Regions from separate parts of the Homo sapiens genome. Here all the other regions are linked to region 1. Evidence: promoter capture Hi-C in 16 types of primary human blood cells and fetal thymus (Javierre and others, 2016). All regions are on one chromosome and are shown on one strand. Each heading gives the region's core, a stretch centred on a gene start or on the middle of the fragment in contact. The rest is flanking DNA. Distances are from core to core; before and after follow the strand shown.

Region 1 (4,979 bases), core at 1,271-3,770:
CCTAGTTGTGCACATGTCAAATCTAATTAAAAATATAAAAATTAGGCCGGGTGTGGTGGCTCATGCCTTAATCCCAGCACTTCAGAAGGCCGAGGCAGGCGGATCACAAGGTCAGAAGTTTGAGACCAGCCTGGCCAACGTGGCAAAACCCCGTCTCTACTAAAAATACAAAAATTAGCCAGGTGTGGTGCCAGGTGCCTGTAATCCCAGCTACTCGGGAGGCTGAGGCAAGAGAATCGTTTGAACACAGGAGGCAGAGGTTGCAGTGAGCTGAGATCGTGCCATTGTACTCCAGCCTGGGCGAGAAGAGCAAGACTCCGTCTTAAAAAACAAAACAAAACAAAACAAAAATACAAAAATTAGCCGGGTGTGGTGCCAGATGCCTGTAATCCCAGCTACCCGGGAGGCTGAGACATGACAATAGCTTGAACATGGGAGACAGAAGTTGCAGTGAGCTGAGATCGTGCCACCGCACTCCAGTCTGGGCCATAGAGCAAGACTCCGTCTCAAACAAATAATAAATAAATAAATAAATAAAATAAAAAGAAATGCTTGGAGTGCTCGGGATCTTCCACTTCAACCTGGAATTTAAATCTTACTGAAATTTCTACAGGATGGTGTGGGCAAACAGGCATCCTAATGTTTGCTGATATAAGTGCAAACTGCATAACTTCTATAAAAAGAAATTTAGAATTAGCAAAATCATAAATGCATATATTGAGATCTAGCAATTTCAATTCTATTTCATCCTACAGATGTAACAGTTTTTCAAAGCTTTTCATTACAGCACTGATTAAGACTAGAAATAATCTAAATATCAATGTTTATGGAACTGGTTAAATAAATTACGGTATATCCCAACAATGAATCACTACGCAGGTGGGTTAAAAAAAAAAATAGACGGCCGTGCGCGGTGGCTCACGCCTGTAATCCCAGCACTTTGGGAGACTGAGGCGGGCGGATCACGAAGTCAAGAGATTGAGATCATCCTGGCCAACAGAGTGAAATACAAAAATACAAAATAAATTAGCTGGGCGTGGTGGCACGTGCCTGTAATCCCAGCTACTAGGGAGGCTGAGGCAGAAGAATCACTTGAACCTGGGAGGCGGAGATTGCAGTGAGCGGAGATCGCGCCATTGCACTCTAGCCTGGGCGACAAGAGCGAAATTTAGTCTCAAAACAAACAAACAAAAAACCAAAAAAACACAACCCTTCATATACAGATATGGGCCGATCTCCAATCTACGGTAGGCTAAAAATGCAGCTTACACACCATCTGTGTAAAAAGGGGAACACATTAAAATATGCATATTTATTTGCTTTTATGTTCATGGAACATCTTTAGAGGATCATAAGAAACTGTTAACATTGCCACTGAGGAAGTGAACAGCCTTCCAGACATGGGTGGATTTTTTTCACTCTACCGAATACCCTTTTAATTTCGAAACATCAAAATGAATTCGCATGCACAGGTGCATGCCCGAAGGAAAAACTTCTAGTTCGGTGATGAGATAGGGAAAGCCGGTGAGTTCAACCTTAGGCGCAATCACCCTGTGAAGGTGTGGCCAGCGAGGGCTTTGTCACGCAAGTCTGAGAACTGTCACAACCTTCCCCACCCCCTGCTCTATTTTCCTTCCACTTGTTTCTGAAACTCACTAAGCTTTGGAAAGTATTTAGTCATAGAATTGCTTGCAAACTTGGCATTCTTTAGAAAACACGGAAACACTTTTGCTTTCCTTGTTCCTGAAAGACTGGGGAACGGGGGACATCAAGCCAGGTAACATTGTATCATAACTGAAATTCAATGTCTTTGAAGTAACATTGTACCATAAATGAAATTCAATGTCTTTGAAGTAACATTGTATCATAAATAAAATTCAATGTCTTTCTAAGAGCTCTGTAGCTATAAAGCTGTAGAAATACAAAGTATTACTCAAGAATAACTAGTAATTACCAATAGTCACACCTCAGGTCAAAGTTTGGAGAGGACTATTCCACCTACTAGATCACACTTTCCTTCCCGAAAGCCGCTTCTCTCTCTGGCCTCTCCCCTCCTCCTCCTCCCTCATCTGTTTGGCGGGAGGCTTCCTCACATTACCGCTCCGCGTAAGTGCGAAGACGCACTGCAGCAGCGCCGTCTGAGGGACAACAGAGCCTACTCTTTCTTCTCATCTCTATGATCCTCTTTGTGACCTGTCAAACAACACCAGAGTTCCATGCTAATAGTACTCCACTCCGACAGAGAGCGATGCAAAGAGCCGACGCTCTCGCGAGAGGTGTGGGGCTCTCTCTCTCTCTCTCGCTCTCTCTCTCTCTCTCTCTCTCGCTCTCTCTCTCTCTCTCTCTCTCTCTCTCTCTCTCTCTCTCTCTCTCTCTCTCTCTCTCTCTCTCTCTCTCTCTCTCTCTCTCTCTCTCACTCTCTCTCTTTCTCCAAGTATTGAGAGCGCGTGGGAGCATAGGCGCATGCGCGCTCGTGGGGTGCGCGGTAGCAACAGAGGACTCGACCCGGCTGGAGCTCCGGAGAGCGCGCGTGCGCCGTCACGAGCTCGGCGCTGCCGGGGCCGCGGTGTGGAAGCGAGTATTCGACCGCCGTGCGGGCCGCGGGGATGTTCCGAAAGGCCCGGCGGGTGAACGTGCGCAAGCGGAACGACTCCGAAGAGGAAGAGCGGGAACGCGATGAGGAGCAGGAGCCGCCGCCGTTGTTGCCGCCGCCGGGCACGGGCGAAGAGGCGGGCCCCGGTGGCGGCGACAGGGCCCCTGGCGGGGAGTCGCTGCTGGGCCCGGGGCCGTCGCCGCCTTCCGCGCTGACCCCGGGCCTCGGGGCTGAGGCCGGGGGCGGCTTCCCCGGCGGCGCGGAGCCCGGCAACGGGCTGAAGCCGCGCAAGAGGCCTCGCGAGAACAAAGAGGTGCCCCGGGCCAGCCTGCTCAGCTTCCAGGACGAGGAGGAAGGTAAAGTGCGCGCTTCGGACGCCCTTAGACGGCCGCATCCCCGACGCAGGCCCCCGTCCCCCGCCCCCGTATTCTCTGGACGCCCAGCCCCGGAGCCCTGGAACGGAGTCCCCTGCCGTCCGACCGGCTGCGAATCTTCCCCAGCCTCCGGCCTTCTGCTCGGGCAAGGGACGCGTTCCCGCGCTGCCCCCAGCCTTTTCTTAACCACCTCCTCTGCCACGGGGCCGGAGCTCAGATCAGGCATTCAGAGTGTTTCAGGGGAAATTCGGTGTTCCCTGTCCTGCCTCTTTTCTGCCTGGCGTGTTTCAGGGCCAACTTGGTGTGGGTCCCCTGGCTGCTCTTGGCATGCTTTCCGAGCCCTCTGCAGGTCACTGCGCCCACACTTCTTGGATGCTCTGTCCAGGCATCCTCGACCATGAAGGCCGAGTTTGTAAAAAGGAATACTAGGAGAGGGAACAGAAGCCTGGAGTTGCAGCTCTGGTTCTGAGTGACCTTGGGCCAGTCCCTTGCAGTCGCTGAGCCTCAGTTTACCCATAAAAGTAATTAGGGGTAGCAGATACCCAGCCTTCTTCGCACTGACTTTGGGAACAGTGAAGCGAGACGGTGTAAAAATAGTAAAAGCAAGGTAGTTTCTCCAATTCCTGTGGGAGGCCAGGCTGCAGTGGTTTTAGATTGCTGATCTTAAATGAGCCTTAAATCTTTTCTTCTGACCATTTGAATGTGCATAACCCAGTTAATTCCATGTTACGAAAAAAGAAATTAAGTTTTGTAAATCTTGCATTTTTATTCGAGAGGTTTCCAGTAAGGTAGGTAGTTTATCTTTGGCATTTCTGTTACTCTTTATTTGGTTTGAGAGGAGTACAGACAGATTTTTGTTTTTGAGATACATGAGCTATTTTTTTTTAAGTATTTAGTACTTTTAAAATTTCAAATCAAAGAAAAGTGATTTGCCCTTACCTTAGCTTTAAAACCACTATGTCAGCTTGTGGTGGATGTAGTTACTCAGAATTGACAGCACCTTTTTATTTTAGATATTTTGTTTCGGATTCGTTAATAACTTGGTGATGTGGTTTTTCAGAAACATTTTGAATGATTTTTTCCCCTCTCAAATAGATGATTTAAGGACGACAATAATAGGAAAATTTTGTGAAGTTACATGTGCTATTCCTTTAAAAAGTCTCAAAAATCTCATTACTTCACAGTAATTTAGGAAGTTGACCTCTGTTTTTGAGTCTGTGACAGACTTGAAATAATTATACAATGATTTTGGCATATGAGTATATATATTTGGGATAATTTGGACAGCACGTAAGATCATGTGAAAGAAGGGAAAATATTTTCAGAAAATAGTTGCTACAGACTTCATTTAATTTCCTTTTTAAGAAAATGAAGAAGTTTTCAAAGTGAAGAAATCAAGTTATAGCAAAAAGATAGTAAAATTGCTCAAGAAGGAATATAAAGAAGATCTTGAAAAATCGAAGATTAAGACAGAACTCAACTCATCAGCTGAAAGTAAGTACCAAACTAATTGAATTCTTTTGAAATGACAAAATGAAAGCTCTTTCTCACAGTGATTTGCTGTATATCTTCTGAACTCATTCAGTGGACCCTGTGGTTGTCAAGGGCCCTTATTGAGTAGCAGTACAGTTCTGTTATTTAATTGTAACACAGATGCTTTGTAAATGTATTTTATAAGAAGACAGAATTGTTGCCACTGGAACATTTCTGCTGCAATGACTAGATTCTCTCACAGTTTTCCTACTTGTGTGCAGACTGCTGTTGAACAGAGAAAGAAGGTTTCTCATTTTAGCCTAAGACACAGGTTTATTTCTGTTTGAAGGAGTGTTGTGCAAATTCTTGTATTTTGTAGAGACAGATTTGCGATTTCTTTGGTGGTATTTCCACAGTGGATTTTATTCTTAGAGAACTTTTAGGAATGCCCTAAATTTAATATTAGTATTACTCCCATTCAGCAGCCTTATCTGATACTAGATGAAGACTCCTTAGAATAATGAGGCAGGTATATTGTA
Region 2 (4,979 bases), core at 774-3,273, 6.5 Mb before region 1:
TCATGATTTTTAACTCTATGAAAACTTCTTCATTTATTATCTTGGACACTTCTGAAAAAGAAATCTAAAAAAGAAACCCAAGTATACTTAGTTTTCAAGTAGCAAAGTTTGTGTAGGAAAGGCAGAGTAGATGGCTTGATTATTTTGCTTTATTTCCCCTCAAAATAAAGATTTATTCCTTTTCATTATTCAACAGCGACCAATTTGTATGTGTGTGTGTTTTAATGTATAAATCAAATAGCTGGGGTTTAACTTATTTCTGATATTCTTTATTGATGTTTAAATCATCTCTTTTCTAGCCATGAGGAGCCTCTTTTCTAAGGCTCCCTGTCCTTTCAAAATGACTAGTAGTTTTCCATAGCATCCTTACTATGAGACAGGGGAAGATATTATAGTTCATCTTGTAAATTTTTGACCTATATCTGAAATTAAGCAGCCCTATTTTCTTTTAGTAAGAAATGTTATTTCTTTTATTTTTTTGAGACAGAGTTTTGCTCTCGTCCAGGCTGGAGTGCAATGGCACGATCTTGGCTCACTGCAACCTCTGCCTCCGGGTTCAAGTGATTCTCCTGCCTCAGCCTCCCGAGTAGCTGGGACTACAGGCATGCGCCACCACGCCTGGCTAATTTTGTATTTTTAGTAGAGACGGGGTTTCTCCATGTTGGTCAGGCTTGTCTTGAACTCCCGACCTCAGGTGATCTGCCTGCCTCGGCCTCCCAAAGTGCTGGGATTACAGGTGTGAGCCACTACGCCCAGCCTAAGAAATGATATTTTATATTGCTTCTTGGCCTTTTGGCTAAGATCAAGTGTAGAAATGATATTTTGTAATTATAATATGGGCAGTAGTGTCCTTGGTGCTGAGTTGTAATGTACTGATTTGAGTTATTGAAATGGAAACAGGAAATACTTTTTAGAATGATATCTAAAATGTTTCAGTATTTTCTCATGTTTGTATGTCATAATAACTTAATAGCTTGAAGATAATTTTGTAAATTTATCTTTGTGTTTTTATATGTTTAACCAGAAGAGTTTCAGTGAATGCTGGAGTGTTATTAGATAGTACTTATATATTGTTCTGTGAATTTGGGAAGGACTAGAAAATAGTGAAAAGCAAAATGTGGAATTGTGATGAGAAATACAGAAAATCAATATGTATATAGTATGCTGTAATTAAGTTTTAAATTGGCGTCTAAGTCTTATGGTCATCAGAACCAAAAGTGTCATTTTGGGATGCTTTTTCAAAACCAAGGGAAGCAAACAGGTGTCAAGAGAGAAAGACCTGAAAAATTAGTTTCTTAAAACACAAGCATTTATTTTCTTATCCGAAGGAAGACTAGAAATAATCTAAGGCTGGAATAGTGGTTCCACAGTTAATCAGGAACTTAGACTCCTGTGTTTCTCATCCCCATCGTGGAGCTTGGCTTCTAGTCCTTTTTTTTTTTTTTTTTTTTTTTTTGAGACAGTTTCGCTTTTGTCACCCAGGCTGGAGTGCAGTGGCATGATCTCAGCTCACTGCAGCCTCTCCTCCTGGGCTCAAGCGATTCTCTTGCCTCAGCCTCCAGAGTAGCTGGGATTACAGTCATGGGTCACCACACCCGGCTAATTTTGTATTTTCAGTAGAGATGGGGTTTCACCATGTTGGCCAGGCTGGTCTCAAACTCCTGTCCTCAGGTGATCCACCTGCCTCGGCCTGCCAAAGTGCTGGGATTACAGGCGTGAGCCACCGCATCCAGCCTTGGCTTCTAGTCTTAAGGTCACCGCATAGTCCAAGATAGCTGCTGAAGCTGTAGCTATTACATATCTGTATTTGTGATGTAGGTTGAAATTTAGAAGAAAAGAAGAAAGATGTTCAGATGTCAAAAAGGGCATTTCTAGTCAAAGGAACTTACTTTAAGTAGCCATGTGGCATTTCTGCTTATAACTCATTGACCAGAATGTTGTCATTTGACCATAATAAGCTAAGGAGGAGAGTAGGTAACACAGTATCTATTTAGAGCAGCAAAGAACCTGGATAAAAATTGGTATTGTGTTTCTAAGGAAGAAAAGGAGAACGGCAGCTAGCTATCTGCCATAATATAATTTTCACAAAAAAGAACATAGCTCTTTCTAGCATTTTATTCTAAAAGAAAGCTCATGTGAAATTTTATAAAGGCGATAATTGATTGAGATGTGGTGATCATTGCCCATGACAACAGTTCCAATAGTGGAAACAAGGGTGAATTTTTCATAACTGTATGTTAGGATATCATTTGATAAGGATGAAGAGTATTTAAAAATTTGTTTTCTGACTATAAAAGTTTGTGTCCAATGTGAAAAATTGGAGTAATAGATATAAAAGCATAAAGGTAAATGACAGCTGTGCAGAGCTATGAGCATATAATGTTGCTTGCCAGTATAAGTAATTCTTTTTGTGCCTAGGATTCAGGCACGTAGTTTGTCTTGATCCAATAACGGTAGAAATTCTATTCATTATAAATTTTTTTTTTTTTTTTTGAGACGGAGTTCTGCTTTTGTTGCCCAGGCTGGAGTGTAATGGTGTGATCTTGGCTCACTTCAGCCTCCACCTCCCTGGTTCAAGCGATTCTCCTGCCTCAGCCTCCAGAGTAGCTGGCAAGCCCAGCTAATTTTTTGTATTTTTAGTAGAGACGGGGTTTCATCATGTTGGCCAGGCTGGTCGTGAACTCCTGACCTCAGGTGATCCATGTACCTTGGCCTCCTAAAGTGCTGGGATTACAGGTGTGGGCCACTGCGCCCGGCCGTATAAAAATTCTTTTATATACACTCTATGATCTTTGCTAATACCACTTTTCTTAGCTGACCATCTCATTAGGAGTAAAATTGCATGCAGCTGAAAATGATACCTATGTCAAGTGTTCCTTTGTTTTATTGATTGAGAATCAATTGTATGTATTGCTTTATTGTCAAAGGGAAACATACAGATATCAGGTGGGACTTTCATTTGGCTGCAAGCTGAAAATCTCGTTATATGGTTCCTTAAACACACATAAAGCAGTGAAATTGACAACCTGTGAAAGGTTGAGTCTGCTTTAGAAATCCCCGCTGGATAAAATAATGTTCTACTGTAATCTTGAGTGTGGGCTGTCTGGCGTACTTAGAGAAAAATGCAGTGTTCTTAAAAATCAGTTTTTATCCTTACAGCATTTACTCTTACACTCTGTTGAGTGTCTAGTTATACCTTGGAACATGGCCAAGATTTCAGTATAAATCTTTTTCCTTTGAGATGTTAAAGTAAACAAAAACATAAAAGCCACGTGTTTTTAATAATGTTCCAGTTGGAGAAAAGGGACAGTCAGTCTTTTCCAGAGAAGAAAAATGATTTTTAGTACCTTCTTCTTGGTGGCAGGTCCTTTGCTTTGAAATTGGTCACAATAACATAATCTTTTTGTTGTATCATGTGAGTGAAATATAGGTGATTAGAAAAACCAGTAACATTGCTATTCTTGTTTTCTATAAATTATCAAACATAGCTTGAATAAATGTGGAGAAGGCAGACTCTGCTTATTTTTTCTTTAGAGAAAGGAATTGCAATCTTGGAAAATCATGAAGACGTTTTGAAAAGCTATTATGGGAGATTCTGTTTGAATTGGTCCTGATAGTACCAATCAGAAAACGAATGAATATTTTTGCCTCTGATATGAAAAATAGGTTTAACTGCCTCTGAGATTTTATTTATATTCATATAAATTTTTAACATGTTTTAACTTCAGAGATTTTGTGTATTTTTAAAGTACATAAACTTATGATTTATAGAATCACACTGGTTTTTATTCTTTATATCCTTTAGTTATCCATCAGTTCAGTAGTTAATATAACTGGGTATTTAAATTTGTAGGAAGCTGGAAGACTTCCGATTAGAGAAAGGTGAAGAGGAAAGAAATCTTTATATAATAGGAAGAAAAAGAAAGACTCTTCAGCTCTCACATAAGGTAACCTAAATTCTGTTTTCTTAGCAAATTAGAAATTACATTGAAATATAGAGTTTTCTTTTTGATTTATAAAACTATCAGTAACTTTCATCTGAAGTGGAGTATTTCTTGCTTAAGGTTTTCTGTTTGAGATTTAAAATAGTAGACTTAAGGTTATATAGCTGTTAGAAAGGAGTAGTTTGAAAACTTGAGAAAAATTGCCTAGTGCCTAACAATGGTATTGAGTTCTTAATTTTAGTTACTAAATTATTTGATTCTGAATTGTCATTTGGTTCTTCTTTTTTTTTTTTAAGGGCTCTCAGTTTTCTACTAAAATTCTCATTGTTTTAATTACTTGGAAAGCAGCCATAGCTATTTTAAAAACAGGTCTGGTAATTTCATTTTTTTCAATGTCTTGCTTCCCTGTGGACCATTTTCTATTGCCTGTTGATTTTTCTCCTTTTTTATCATCATATTTTTGTTTCTTTTTTGATTGTTAAATGTTAGAAAAGATTTGAAGCACAGGATGGCTTTATTCCCAGAGACGATTTACATTGACTTCTGGCAGCCTTCTGGGGCCACTCTCAAGCCTTATTGCCTTATCCGAACAAGAATGGGCCTTAGTTCCTTGGGATTACTGTTCTATCTGTAGTTTACCTACAGGTCTAGGCTGTAGCCTTTTGGGCTAACAGCCAAAGCCCGAGGGAGTCCCCTACATATAGGAGGCCATGAATTGCAAGTTTATTAGCCTAACTCATGAGTTAGTCTGTGATTTTGCTTACTTGCTAAACCTTCCAGCTTCCTCTTCCAGAATGAAATTCTAGGGTTAAAATATATATATATCTATGTGTGTGTGTATACACACACACACACACACACACACACACACACACACACACACCCCCCTTCTTTTTTTGATCTTGGTTCTGTGATTCTTCATAACCTTTTAAGGCATAAAGTGCCTTTAAACAGATTTGTTAAAAAATATGTTTTACCAGATTTTCTAGTTTTTCTTAGTGAAAGTTTGGCCCACCTACATGTTAACCTATTATC
Region 3 (4,979 bases), core at 1,720-4,219, 6.4 Mb before region 1:
ACTATTAAAGTGAAAATTTGTTTTTTAGGAATCAACACTGTACAAATATCTCAGAACTTTCTAACACATCTGAAAATGATGAGCAAAATGCTGAGGATTTGGTATGAAGTTTGTTGATTTTATAATGGTTTTTGTTAATTTCAAATGGTATTTTTAAAGTGAAGAAAATGTTGGCTTTGTAGTACCAACTCTTGTAGTAGTCCAATGAACAAATAGGGCATTTGATAAAATTATATTTTTGAATTTTCTAGATGATTTATGAGGTAATTTGTTTTAGCTAATATCAAAATATATCTAAGTGAATAACTTTAGGTGTGGAATATATTCTCTTTCTATATTTTAGCTAGTGAAAGGTGTATTATATAAAGTACCTTGGAGGCTGGGCACAGTGGCTCACACCTGTAATTCCAGTGCTTTAGCAGGCTGAGATGGGAAGATTGCTTGAGCCAGGAGTTTGAGACCCTGTCTCTACAATAAATAAAAAAGTTAGATGGGGGTGGTAGTGCATGCCTGTACTATAGAACACAAAATGCAGAAACTATAGGAATCTGTATGTTTCTGGGGATTTGTGGATAGAGGTAAAACACAAGTTTTCTATTTAGGAAATGCATGAAGCGTCTTTTTATAGCTGTAATTTCAAATTTTAGAATTAGTTCATGTTCTTAGGGAATGAAAAAGGATTATTAAGAATGATTTTTTTTTTTCAAGCCTGGGTGCCACAAAGATCATCTGGTAGTCTTTCTTTGGAGATTTTGATAATAACATGTTATAACTCTGGTAATACCAAATGTCTTTGATATGTTATTTATTAAGATTATGTTATTATTTTCTAATGAGACTCTAAATACTTAAGGTGCTCTGATTTTATTCCTAGGATGATAGTGATCTTCCTAAAACATCTTCTGGAAGGAGGAGAGTAAGTTACTCTGCATGGTTGACTTTTGTAGTTTCTTTTTCTTTGTTTTAAAATCAATTCAGGATTTTAGTTTTTGTCTTTGAAAAGTTATATCAGTGTAGATACTGAATATTTTATTAGCAAAATGGGAGAAATTACTGGAAAGATTTAGTGGGAGAGTTGGAATTTGTACTGTATTATCAGAGTGAGATGGAGTAAGAAGAGGCCATTCAAAAAATAGAGGCTACCACAGGAAAGACAAAAAAAGTAGAGAAATATGGCATGGCATGTCCATAGACTGTTAAGGGAACTACACCTGACTGGTGTAGAGGTTGGATGTTGAAGTGATCAAAGTGGCTGTGTCTGGCTGTTATGATTGGGGTAGATTATGGTGATATTGAAATCCAAGGATTTCATTTAAAGTAGAGAATCAATTGAACAGCCAAAATAGATAATACAATTTGAAGGATAAGAAGATGTGTATTAAAGGAGATGAATTAGGAGTTTATTCCAAGAATATAGGGTGAAGGACGGGTACCTAGTCAAGGATATTTGCTTGGAATGGAGAGGAAAGGAAAATTATGACACCTTTTTAGGGAAAACTAACTAGGATTTGGTGACTGAACTTTTTTTAACAATGGAGATATGTTGGGATGATGAGGTTGAGGGGTAAGGAGAAGGGTCTATGGAACTAAGTTTATGAAAGTGGGTAATCATAATGGAGTATCGGCAGGCTTTGAAGTTCAAATATAGAGTAATTAAAATTAAAGGTTATTAATATGAAAATGCTTAAGACATTTTAGCCCAGATCATTTTAAATTTCCTCCAAATGCTCCTTAAATTTAAGCTTTTTATGAAATATTAATTTATACCATGTGCTTGCCTTCCAGAACACTGAAAAGTTATACCTAAAATACTCTAATTTGATTAGTCATTTTCGTTTAATTTTATTTCTAGACTCCCAAGTGTTTAGTATTTGTATTTATTTGCTATGTCTGCTGCAGCAAATGACAAATTTAGTTGCTTAAATAATAAAAATGTATTACCTGATAGTTCTGTAGATTAGAAGTTTTCATGGGTCTCTAGGTCAGAATCATGGTCTTGGTGTGGCCAGAAGCTCCAGGGAGAGTTATGTGCATTTTCCAGCTTCTAGTGGGTGTCCTCACCTTGGCTCCAGGTCACCTTGTTCCATCTTTCAAGCCAACAATGTAGCATTTTTCAGTCTCTCTCTGACTCTGACCTTTCTGCCTCCCTCTTATAATAACTTTTGTGGCTATACTGGGTCCAAGCAATCAATTCAAGATAATCTTTCATCTCAAGGTCTATACCCTTAATGCAAAATACCTTTTCTCATGTAAGGCAACATAGTCATAGGTTATGAGGATTATGATGTGGACATCTTTGGTGGGGCCATTATTCTGCCTATCATATTATCAGATGTGCTTCATATTCTGCGAAAACAAATATTATAAACCTGGGAGGTGAGAGGTCATGGAATAGCCTTTCACTAGATAATGTGCTCTTGTTAGAGTATGCTTTTCATAGCTAACTTTGTAATATTTCTGAAATTGGTTAAGTTATATGAAAATAACTTACGTTTCATGCATAGTTTAAAAATTTCATTTCTGGAAAAATGTGTTGAGAGCAACATATATGACATTATTGTATTTTTATAGAAGACAGTAGATCAGTTACATTTTTACCACAGTCTTACACCAATAGTGTGATTTTTCTTAAGACTGTGAATGTATTTTTAGGTCCATGATGGGAAAAAAAGCATCAGAGCTACGAACTATGTTGAAAGCAACTGGAAGAAACAGTGTAAGGAACTAGTGAACTTAATTTTTCAGTGTGAAGATTCTGAACCATTTAGACAACCTGTTGATTTGGTTGAATATCCAGTAAGTTTCCATTGTTTAAATGTTTGGGGCTTTTCTTGTTTTGCAGTGAGGAAACTGGGGTAGAGTTATTAAACTTTAAAGAGAAAGATACCCAGGCTTTATGTTAACTTTTTTGCTCCTATCACTAAGTTAGTGGTAGAAGTATTGTTTTTACATAGTTTTCTTCAATTTATAGACACCCTTGTGAGCTCATTTAAGAATTTAGACTTAGATAATCAGTATTACATAACAGTGGGATGGATCTACTTAGATTTCTATCTAAGTAGGCCCAGCACTAGGAGAACTGTGAATTGGATAAACGTGTCTGTTTGCACTCTTTAAAAAGGGAAATTGAAAGATGACTTTATAAAAAAAGTTGGATTATAACAGCACAGAGTGACTGTAGGATGCTTGGAGTACATACAGCAGGAAATAAAACCATCCCATGTGTCACTAACAATAAATAGACATTAACATTTTGGTATATTTCTATCTTTTCTTTGTTTTTATACCTCTTTTTAAACATTACTAATGAATTTTAAGAGTCCTCTAACCTTTTCCTCTCTTCCATCATTTCACATTTTTTAGAGATCTGATGCATTTACATTTCTAAAAGCAAGAAATGAATCTATGAATTAAATATTGTGTTTAAAACCTAGGACTACAGAGATATTATAGATACCCCAATGGATTTTGGAACAGTAAGGGAAACTCTAGATGCGGGAAATTATGACAGCCCTTTGGAGTTTTGCAAAGACATCCGGCTGATATTTAGCAATGCAAAAGCGTATACACCAAACAAAAGATCAAAGGTAATTTTTTATGTGGTTTATTGAAAAAAACTGCCTGATCTGTGTAGATAATTTTCCAATGTAATAGTAATTTTTTCCAGTGTAATTTTCCACTGTGTAATAGAGGTTAGAACATTAAAGATAAGTGAATAAATTAAGACTATTATAAAGAAAAGAGCTTCTGCTACTGCTCATATAGCTTCAGTTTTTGCCTTTCATCAGTTGATGTTTATCATAATCTCCTCAAATTTTATAAGCAAGTGGGGATTAATGGGAGTAGGCATCAATAGAAAGTGAACAAATTTGATACACAGAGTAAGAGTCTCTGTGTTTTGTATGTATAAGGATCTTAAGTGGATTGGAAACATAGATCGAGACTGTAAGAATATTAAAAGTAAAAAGGAAAATCTGATTGTGAGACTGCTGACAGCATAAGAACATTTGGATTTGAAGAAGGAACACATGAGCTATCAGATTAAGACCACAAATAATGTTACAGAGCCAGTGGAGGCTCTTTGCTTGATGTGTTAGAAGCTAATATTATGACACAGGGTTTTTCTTTTTCTTTTTTTTTTTTTTCTAGCCTACTCAAGTGAAGTGGTGACACTGGGTTTTTGAGAATAAGCTTTATATTGAAAGTTGACTCCTAAGGAGACAGGAGTGAATTTCAAATCTGACTCCGGTGCTGGCTTTAAAGCAGTATTTTTATTTTTTATTTTTTTTTAAAGAAAAGGTTCAGGGCATGGATTCTGAGATTAGCAGGTGATTAATGGAAGGAAAGGAGAGGTCTGGAAAGTCTTTGGGCATGTATAGTTATTTCTTTATGTTATCTGATGGGTTGCGTGTGCAAATTTGGGGGAAGTTAGTGTGAAGCATGCTGGAAATTCAGGCTCTGATGTCAGCAGGCTCATTCTTTGCAGACTCCACTTGGCCATACTGGTTTTAACCAGTTTCAGCCAGTTCTTCTTATCTCATAAGCAGAGGGAGTTTTAGTGTTTTATAGTAGGTTGGGTTTCTTTCTTTCTTTTTTTTTTTTTGTCATTTTGTAAACTTAAGAATTTTTGTTAATTGACTTCTTTAACTCTTTGGGGCATGCAGTTTCAGTAGAAGGTTACTAAAGTTTTGTTAACATGTTACACATTGGGTAACTTTTCAAAACTTGATGAGGCCTGTAATCCCTGGAATTTGGGAGGCCAAGGTAGGCAGATCACTTGAGGTCAGGAGTTCGAGACCAGCCTGGTCAACATGGTGAGCCCCCTTCTCTACTAGAGATAAAAAAATTAGCCCGTGTTGGCGCTTGCCTGTAATCCCACCTATAGGCACGAGGCATGAGAACCGCTTGAAATGAGGCATGAGAGCCACTTGAACCTGGGAGGCAGAGGTTGCAGTGAGCTGAGATCATGCCACTGCACT

The links. Contacts are between HindIII fragments. The CHiCAGO score rates a contact against its expected background, and 5 or more counts as called.
Region 2: a contact is called between a fragment that was not itself captured here and the fragment with the promoter of PAXBP1 in region 1, in 1 of 17 cell types (M2 macrophages). The highest score is 5.0, in M2 macrophages.
Region 3: a fragment that was not itself captured here is called in contact with the fragment with the promoter of PAXBP1 in region 1 in 1 of 17 cell types (M2 macrophages); the score reaches 5.0 in M2 macrophages.

Annotation. Positions count from the first base shown.
Region 1 is chr21:32,769,296-32,774,274 of GRCh38, reverse strand. It overlaps PAXBP1 (PAX3 and PAX7 binding protein 1), which reads left to right and starts at 2,520. Exons shown (of 18, transcript NM_016631.4): 1 at 2,520-2,949; 2 at 4,333-4,461. The coding sequence starts at 2,607. EPCIP-AS1 (EPCIP antisense RNA 1) reads right to left here and starts at 2,175. Exons shown (of 4, transcript NR_024623.1): 1 at 1,967-2,175. RefSeq lists an enhancer at 1,864-2,853. The HindIII fragment of the contact is 7,946 bases long and covers 1,663-4,979 here.
Region 2 is chr21:39,249,764-39,254,742 of GRCh38, reverse strand. It overlaps BRWD1 (bromodomain and WD repeat domain containing 1), which reads left to right. Exons shown (of 41, transcript NM_033656.4): 20 at 3,854-3,947. Among named protein-coding and RNA genes, the nearest start is that of BRWD1, 61 kb to the left of the region's middle. The HindIII fragment of the contact is 9,465 bases long and covers 1-4,979 here.
Region 3 is chr21:39,208,603-39,213,581 of GRCh38, reverse strand. BRWD1 (bromodomain and WD repeat domain containing 1) reads left to right here. Exons shown (of 41, transcript NM_033656.4): 33 at 29-101; 34 at 875-916; 35 at 2,653-2,796; 36 at 3,435-3,587. Among named protein-coding and RNA genes, the nearest start is that of PSMG1, 28 kb to the right of the region's middle. The HindIII fragment of the contact is 2,449 bases long and covers 1,745-4,193 here.